Regions from separate parts of the Homo sapiens genome. Here region 1 is linked to region 2. Evidence: promoter capture Hi-C in 16 types of primary human blood cells and fetal thymus (Javierre and others, 2016). All regions are on one chromosome and are shown on one strand. Each heading gives the region's core, a stretch centred on a gene start or on the middle of the fragment in contact. The rest is flanking DNA. Distances are from core to core; before and after follow the strand shown.

Evidence for each region. Contacts are between HindIII fragments. The CHiCAGO score rates a contact against its expected background, and 5 or more counts as called.
Region 1: a contact is called between a fragment that was not itself captured here and the fragment with the promoter of SOX18 in region 2, in 2 of 17 cell types (monocytes and naive B cells). The highest score is 5.7, in monocytes.

Annotation. Positions count from the first base shown.
Region 1 is chr20:63,503,557-63,507,315 of GRCh38, reverse strand. It overlaps LOC105372725 (a long non-coding RNA gene), which reads right to left. Exons shown (of 3, transcript XR_937004.3): 2 at 2,320-2,412; 3 at 1,584-1,961. Among named protein-coding and RNA genes, the nearest start is that of EEF1A2, 6.4 kb to the right of the region's middle. The HindIII fragment of the contact is 815 bases long and covers 890-1,704 here.
Region 2 is chr20:64,047,259-64,051,287 of GRCh38, reverse strand. SOX18 (SRY-box transcription factor 18) reads left to right here and starts at 1,649. Exons shown (of 2, transcript NM_018419.3): 1 at 1,649-2,129; 2 at 2,326-3,706. The coding sequence starts at 1,772. The coding sequence ends at 3,122. RefSeq lists promoters at 1,509-1,769, 872-1,769, 664-1,772, an enhancer at 1,097-1,778 and a silencer at 1,910-1,959. The HindIII fragment of the contact is 12,409 bases long and covers 1-4,029 here.

The DNA.
Region 1 (3,759 bases), core at 48-2,547, 540 kb after region 2:
CATCAACACACAAATCACACTCGGCAGTGCCATGACAGTTCCAGGAACACACATATTTGGTGTAAAAAAGGGTGGCACCACAGTTCCTAGAAATCTTCACCTTTTTCCAGAAATCTTTATGAATATTCCACTCCTTGGTTAAAGAAACCCATTAAAGGTAGGGGCCCCAAACCCTGCCTCACGACTCACTTTCTTGAGAACACCCATACTCCCCTTTCTTCTTTGACTTTTTTTTCTATTTGCTTGTTTATTTTTATGAGGCAGGGTCTCACTATGTTGCCCAGGCTGATCTCGAACTCCTGCCTCAGCCTCCCAATGTGTTAGGATTACAGGCGTGAGCCTTCACACCCAGCCACACTCTGCTTTCTGGAGGGTGTACTTTTTGCTTTGCAATAAATCTCTACTTTCATTATTTTTTAACTCATCCTTGAATTCGTTTTGTGATGGTGTTAAGAGGCAGGACACTGGCCTGGGTCAAGGTCCCATTCGCATTTGGGGACCTCCCCTGGCCACCAGTATCAAAAGTACTTCCTTGTTAATTTTCAGGGTTTTTTTTGAGACAGATTCTCACTCACTCTGTCACCCAGGCTGGAGTGCAGTGGCATGATCTTGGCTACTGCAACCTCTGCCTCCCGGGATCCAGCGATTCTCGTGACTCAGCCTCCTGAGTAGCTGGGAATACCGGCATGTGCCACCATACCTGGCTAATTTTTGAATTTTTAGTAGGGATGGGGTTTCACCATTTTGGCCGGGCTGGTCTTGAACTCCTGGGCTCAAGTGATCCACCCGCCTTGGCCTCCCAAAGTGCTGGGATTACAGGTGTCAGCCACCGTGCCCGGCTTACTTATCAGTTACAAAGGGCAAAGTGGTAACTTTACTGTGAGAAGCTTGTGGATGCCAGTTTAACCAGAGGATCAAAGGTACCGTTGCCGCTGGTGGGCAGCCAGCGTCCCGAGTGCTGGGAAGGATGCCTGGCTCTTGGTGCCAATCTGTTCATGCAGAAATGTCAGGAACGCTCAATGCGGGGACAATCTACAAAACAACCGGTTTGCATTCTTCAAAAGTTTCAGTGTCATAAAAGATTTTTAAAAAGACAGGCCCAATGTATATACCGTGAAAATAGTAAAACAATAAAATATAAAAGTAAAAAGACTGAAGTAACCTTGTCTTTGTATTGATGTGGAGTCAACCGCTGCTTCCAGTTGCGGGGGAGTAGCTGCTGCCAGGTACGTCTCCCTCCAGAAACGACTCTGAGACCAGACAAAATTCGTGCGCTGCTCTCTTCAGGCAGTGGGGTGAGGACAGCACAAGACCGAGAGGGTGCTTGGAGGCGCCCACACTCCCGGCTCTCCTTGGCCATAACCCCACAAGCAGGGCTCCAGGCAGAGCACGGCAGTCCCCCTGGGATGAGAGGCAGAGACTGGAGTGAGGGGCTTAGGTGTGCATGTTGCTGGTGGGGAGTGCTTGGGACCTCTGCAAGCCTGTGGCTGAGGGTGAGGAGGTGCCGGAGGCTCACCAGAGAGCAGTGACTATAGGCCCTGTGCTGTTATCCGTCACTGCATAACCAATCAACACCGATTTAGTAGCTTTAAAAAACATGCATTTATTCTCAGTTTTGGGGGGTCAGGAGCCCACACACAATTCCGCTGGGTGGCTCGGGGTTTCAAGAGTGCCACCAAGGTGTTGGTATTTCTTTCTGAAGCTTGAGGTCCTCTTTGAAGGCCACGTGGTTGTTGGCAGAATTCAGTTCCTTGTGGCTGTAGGACTGAGGTCCCTGCTTTCTTGTTGGCTGGCAGCCTGGGGCCACTCACTGGTTCCCTGATACGAGGCCCCTCCCATGCCTTCCAACAGCCATATCTTCACAGACAGCAGGGGTGTCTTGCTGCTCCGTCCCCCAGGACAGAGCCTGGAATGATGCAGCCAATCACAGAGTGACTTATCACCTTTCTGTGTTCTATGGGCTGGACACAAACCGTAGTGTTTCTCGGAGGAAAGTACTCAAGGCTGCGACTCACCAGGGATTACCTGAGGTTGTATCCACCCAGGTTAGAGCAGAACAAAGATAGTAGAGGACAAGCTGTGTCGGGCAGTATTTTGGCATTTGGCATTTGGACCTGGCCAGAGTGGAGAGACTTGGGCGGCATTGGCATTTGGCATTTGGACCTGGCTAGAGTGGAGAGACCTTACTTTTTTTTTTTTTTTTTGAGGAGAAAGGACTACAATGTACAATAATGCCTACTCCACACTCACCTAACGAAAGTTCAGACCAAGCCCCACAGAGATCTGCAGGGGAGACTGAGATTGAGGGTTGAGTCTTACCAAGGTAGCAGGACTTGGGAAACACTTTGGGCTTTCGACATCGACACTGACAAAGCATGAGAACAAGTCCACAGGGCCCAGCAGTGAACCAACCTGCAAAGCAAACACCGACAGCTTCAGAGGAGGAAGCAGAGTAGACTCTCCACATGATGTTCAGTATTCAGTCAAAAATCACTAGACACACGAAGAAACAGGACAATGCAACCCACGCTCAAGGGGTAAAAGCCAATTATCAATTGATTTATTTCCAGCTGCAAATTCACCCTTTATTGCCTTCCTCAAAAAAGTGAATCTCAGCTGGGTGCAGTGGTTCGCGTCTGTAATCCCAGGGCTTTGGGAGACGAAGGCGGGTGGATCACTTGAGCCCATGAGTTGGAGACCAGCCTAGGCAACATGGCAAGACCCTATCTCTATAAAAAATACAAAAATTAGCTGGGCGTGGTGGTGTGTACCTGTAGTCCCAAATACTTGGGAGGCTGAGGTGGGAGGATCGCTTGAGCCTGGGAGGCCGAAGCTGTGGTGAACCATGATTGTGCCACTACTCTACAGCCTGGGGGACAGAGTGAGACCCTGTCTCAGAAAAAAAGAAAAGAAAAAAAATGAATCTGCCCAGTGTAAAGGAGAAATGCTTAAAGTAATTCTGTCCACTGCTGTGGAGCAGGTATTGAAGGTTAAATTTCGAGCCAAAAGACAATAAACTAGTGGTTGGCATAATGCACCTATCATGTGGCTGAAACATCCTGGGGTGTGTACTGAGCAGGTACACCCGCACAAGAGAGACGCACACAAGTGTTCGTAGCAGCTTTATTTGTAGTCGTTCAGAACTGGAAGTGGAATGCAGTACAGTGATGAAAATGAACAAATGCCTGCTGCACGGGACGGCATGGAGGCATCTCACAGACACGGTCGTGTGTGAAAGAAGCCACACAAAAGGATACACACTGTGCATTGTGTTCCCTTTATATAAAGTTTAAAAACAGGCAAACGTGATCTGTGCTGTCAGAAGTCACCTTTACCGAGGGGCAGGAGGGAATGTTGTTTCTTGGTCTGGGTGTGTTTTCCTGGTGATAACTCATCAGGCACATTTGCAGTGTGTCACTTTTCTCTATGTATGCTCAAAGTCACGTCTTTAAAAAGGCAGACGTCCCCTCTGTGTTCTCCCTGCCCTTCCTCCTGCCCTGGCCCAGCTGCTCGGTTCCTGGCCGTGTGGGGAGGTCCCTCCAGGGGTGGGGAGGCTCTGAATCTCTGTGGGAGGCGATGGTGGGCGGCAGCCCCTGGGAGGCTCATCCCCAGGGTGCAGGCAGGGTCCTGTTATTCCCTTCATAAGATTCCCAGCTGCCTAATTGAGGGAAGGGCTATTCAAAGAGGTGAAAACAGGGCCTCCAGAGCTGCTAATGAACTTCAGGTTCCCCAGGGCAATTTCCCACCTTGAGAGATCCC
Region 2 (4,029 bases), core at 400-2,899:
GCCAAGGGTCCAGCCACCCATACTGAGATTAAAGGAGGACTAGCAGCATCCGGCAGAGGCCTGTGAGCCCCTCCATCCCTGTGGCCACAACCCTGCCTGCCTCCCCAGAAAAGCCAGGGGCCGCACCTCCTGGTGCCCCACGGGCCCCCCATTAGCCAGCACTGGCTCAGTGTCTGTGAACGAGGTGCTAGGCCCGTGGGGCAAACTGGAGGGACGGGAGATCTGGAGACCAGACTGGGAGACCCAGCCCCGTATGCTGGGACGATGGGCGTCGAGACAGACTGTGATGTGGGGCTTTGGGGAGGGCTGGACACCGACCGCGACAGCCCTCGGTGGGAGTGCCCCTGTGGGGGTGCTGGCCTCAGGGCAGGAGTGCCCCTGGGGACAGTTCAGGAACAGCCTCTAAGGGGCACTGCAAGGCCCACGTGGGGCCCACCCCATTCATAACACAGGCTGGATGTGGCCTAGCGAGGCTGGCAGGGACAGAGAACCAAGAGCTTCTGGCCACACAGGCTCAGGGTCACAAGACCTGTGGCCTCTACCCATGGGGCTCCCGGCATAGTGTGGCGGGGGGAGCTGGGGAGCCTCCAGGCTATGAGGAGATGTGCCGCGAGGTGGCGAGATTCTGACCCTGCCTGGAGGGCTGCTGGGGACACCCAACCCTTCTCCAGTAGAACCATGCGTGGCAGTGGGAGGGGAGGACCTCCAGAGGGAGACCCTCAGCTCTGGAGCCCAGATCCCCTCCTGATGGAGTAGGAAGGGGACAGTGAAAATTCAGGAAGCTGGACGCTCCTCCGGAACCCGCCCCCGCCCAGGTCAGAGGGTCCAGGGAGGGGCCAGTGGGAAGGACCCAGGTAGGCCCTGCCTCTTGCTGCAGCGGTGGCCTGGGCTGGGCAGGGGAGCCAGCAAGCCACTGAGGGTCCCAGCCCCTTCCCCAAGGGCCCTTGGGGGGCAGGGAGGACGCCACAGCCTCTGCGTCCCTGCTCCCCCTTCTCTTTGTGGGCTCCGTCCAGGGCCTCTGCTCTCTCCCTCCCTGTGTCAGCTTTGCCTTGTGCCAGAGTTGGTTTGGGAGTGAGGACAGAAGACCATCTTGTCCCATAAAGGCACTCAAAGTCCCTGGTGCTGACGGTTACACATGGGTGTAGAGTTTCCAGCATGGGCGCCCCTGGGGACTCAGAGCGCCTCCCCAAAGACGGGGCCTTTTCTGAAGGCGCTGCACTCCAGGAAGGACTTACCGGCTGTTGGGAAGGCAGCCTCCCCAGAACTTGGTGTGAAAAAGGGCCCTCTCCTCCCCATGGAGCCTCCCAGCGGGGGGCGGGGAACGGCAACCAGCGGGACACTGCCGCCCTCCCCCAGTTACTGCCCGGGGGTCCGACTCCGTGGGTGGGTGGCAGCTCGCCTCCGAAAGTCTGGCAGCACCGGCCCTCATCAGCAGCCCTTTCTTTCCCACCCGGGGGGTCTCTCCTTCTGAGAGGTCGCGGGGGAGGTGGGGGGGCTGTGCGCGGGGGAGGCCTCAGCGGAATCCCGCCCGGCCTGAGAAGAAAGGGAGCCCCCGGGGAGGAGGCGGCCCCGACCCGCCCCCGCCCGCCCGCCCCGCCGCCGATTGGCCCTGAGCCGCTATATCTGGGCGCCCGCCCGGCCCGAGGCCACCGCCGTCCCCACCGCCATCCGCCCTCCCGGCCTGGCCTGCCCTTGCGCCCGGCTCCCCAGTGCCCGCCGCCCGCCCGCCGCGCTCCCGCGCTCCGTTCCGCCCAGGCCGCGCCCAGCTGGAATGCAGAGATCGCCGCCCGGCTACGGCGCACAGGACGACCCGCCCGCCCGCCGCGACTGTGCATGGGCCCCGGGACACGGGGCCGCCGCTGACACGCGCGGCCTCGCCGCCGGCCCCGCCGCCCTCGCCGCGCCCGCCGCGCCCGCCTCGCCGCCCAGCCCGCAGCGCAGTCCCCCGCGCAGCCCCGAGCCGGGGCGCTATGGCCTCAGCCCGGCCGGCCGCGGGGAACGCCAGGCGGCAGACGAGTCGCGCATCCGGCGGCCCATGAACGCCTTCATGGTGTGGGCAAAGGACGAGCGCAAGCGGCTGGCTCAGCAGAACCCGGACCTGCACAACGCGGTGCTCAGCAAGATGCTGGGTGAGCGGCGGGAGGGCGGCAGAGAAGGGGGAGAGGGCGGGGGGGGCTCGGGCCGGGGTGGGGCGGGGGGGGCAGGGGTCCCGGGCCGCGGGGTGCGGGGGCTGCGCCAAACCCTCGCGGGGCGTCCCGGGCGCACGGAGGGCTCGGCGCCCACCCGCCCGACGGCGTTCCACTCACTGGCGCCCACGGCCCGCAGGCAAAGCGTGGAAGGAGCTGAACGCGGCGGAGAAGCGGCCCTTCGTGGAGGAAGCCGAACGGCTGCGCGTGCAGCACTTGCGCGACCACCCCAACTACAAGTACCGGCCGCGCCGCAAGAAGCAGGCGCGCAAGGCCCGGCGGCTGGAGCCCGGCCTCCTGCTCCCGGGATTAGCGCCCCCGCAGCCACCGCCCGAGCCTTTCCCCGCGGCGTCTGGCTCGGCTCGCGCCTTCCGCGAGCTGCCCCCGCTGGGCGCCGAGTTCGACGGCCTGGGGCTGCCCACGCCCGAGCGCTCGCCTCTGGACGGCCTGGAGCCCGGCGAGGCTGCCTTCTTCCCACCGCCCGCGGCGCCCGAGGACTGCGCGCTGCGGCCCTTCCGCGCGCCCTACGCGCCCACCGAGTTGTCGCGGGACCCCGGCGGTTGCTACGGGGCTCCCCTGGCGGAGGCGCTCAGGACCGCGCCCCCCGCGGCGCCGCTCGCTGGCCTGTACTACGGCACCCTGGGCACGCCCGGCCCGTACCCCGGCCCGCTGTCGCCGCCGCCCGAGGCCCCGCCGCTGGAGAGCGCCGAGCCGCTGGGGCCCGCCGCCGATCTGTGGGCCGACGTGGACCTCACCGAGTTCGACCAGTACCTCAACTGCAGCCGGACTCGGCCCGACGCCCCCGGGCTCCCGTACCACGTGGCACTGGCCAAACTGGGCCCGCGCGCCATGTCCTGCCCAGAGGAGAGCAGCCTGATCTCCGCGCTGTCGGACGCCAGCAGCGCGGTCTATTACAGCGCGTGCATCTCCGGCTAGGCCGCCGGCGCCGCCCGGGTCCCTGCAGCGCTTCCTCCCGCAGCCCCCGCGACCGATCCGACCGCGTCGCTGCCGCTCTGCTCTCTCATACGCGTGTATGTTTGGTTCCATGTCACAGCCCCCTAGGAGCCAGTGATGCTCGGCCTTGCGCCCGTTCCACCTCCCAGGCCACCCTTCCTGGGCTTCTGGGCCACCTGCCCTCGGGGGGCCCCTGCGAGGGTGCCTGGAGTTCCCACGTGTCCCGGGGCTTTTCCAGGAAGCCCGAGCCCAGGACCTGTTGGCAGAGTTGCCAGGGTTACATTTTTGAAGCACCTGCTCCTTTTCTTGCAGTGTATTTTCTACAACCAGATTGTATTAATATTTTTTACTTTGCCCTTTTAAAAAATATACCTAATACAATATATTTAATTTTTAATTAAACTCTTAAACTTTTCTTCCAAGAAGTTTCAGTGATCAGAAGCGTCACTGTGGCAAAGACTTTTGCAATGTGAGGAATACAGATGTTTGCTTTCTATAAAGGAGGAGCCTGGAGCTGGGTCCCCGGACGGAGAGGCCACAATAAATCCTCGGGCCTTTCCTCTGCACACTGACATCTGTGGTGTTTGCAGGGAGGGAAAAGCAGTTCCCCAAATAGCCCTGGACGCCCCTTCCCTCCGAATCGCCCCCAGGGAGCCTGACTCCTAGCTTGAACCTCATAGCACTCCTTCATCCTTCCGTGACACATCCCAGAGAGCGTGGGTAGCAGGCATGGGTCCACACTCCCCCCCAGCCCTCCACTCCCCTCCTGTCCCACCCCCAGGTTAACTCAAGCCTATCGGAGGTCAGACTATACCAGCAATCCTGTCACACCCCCGCTAGGGTTTCATCGCCCTTGCCTCCACCTTAAAACTTCCATGCCCAAGGACTG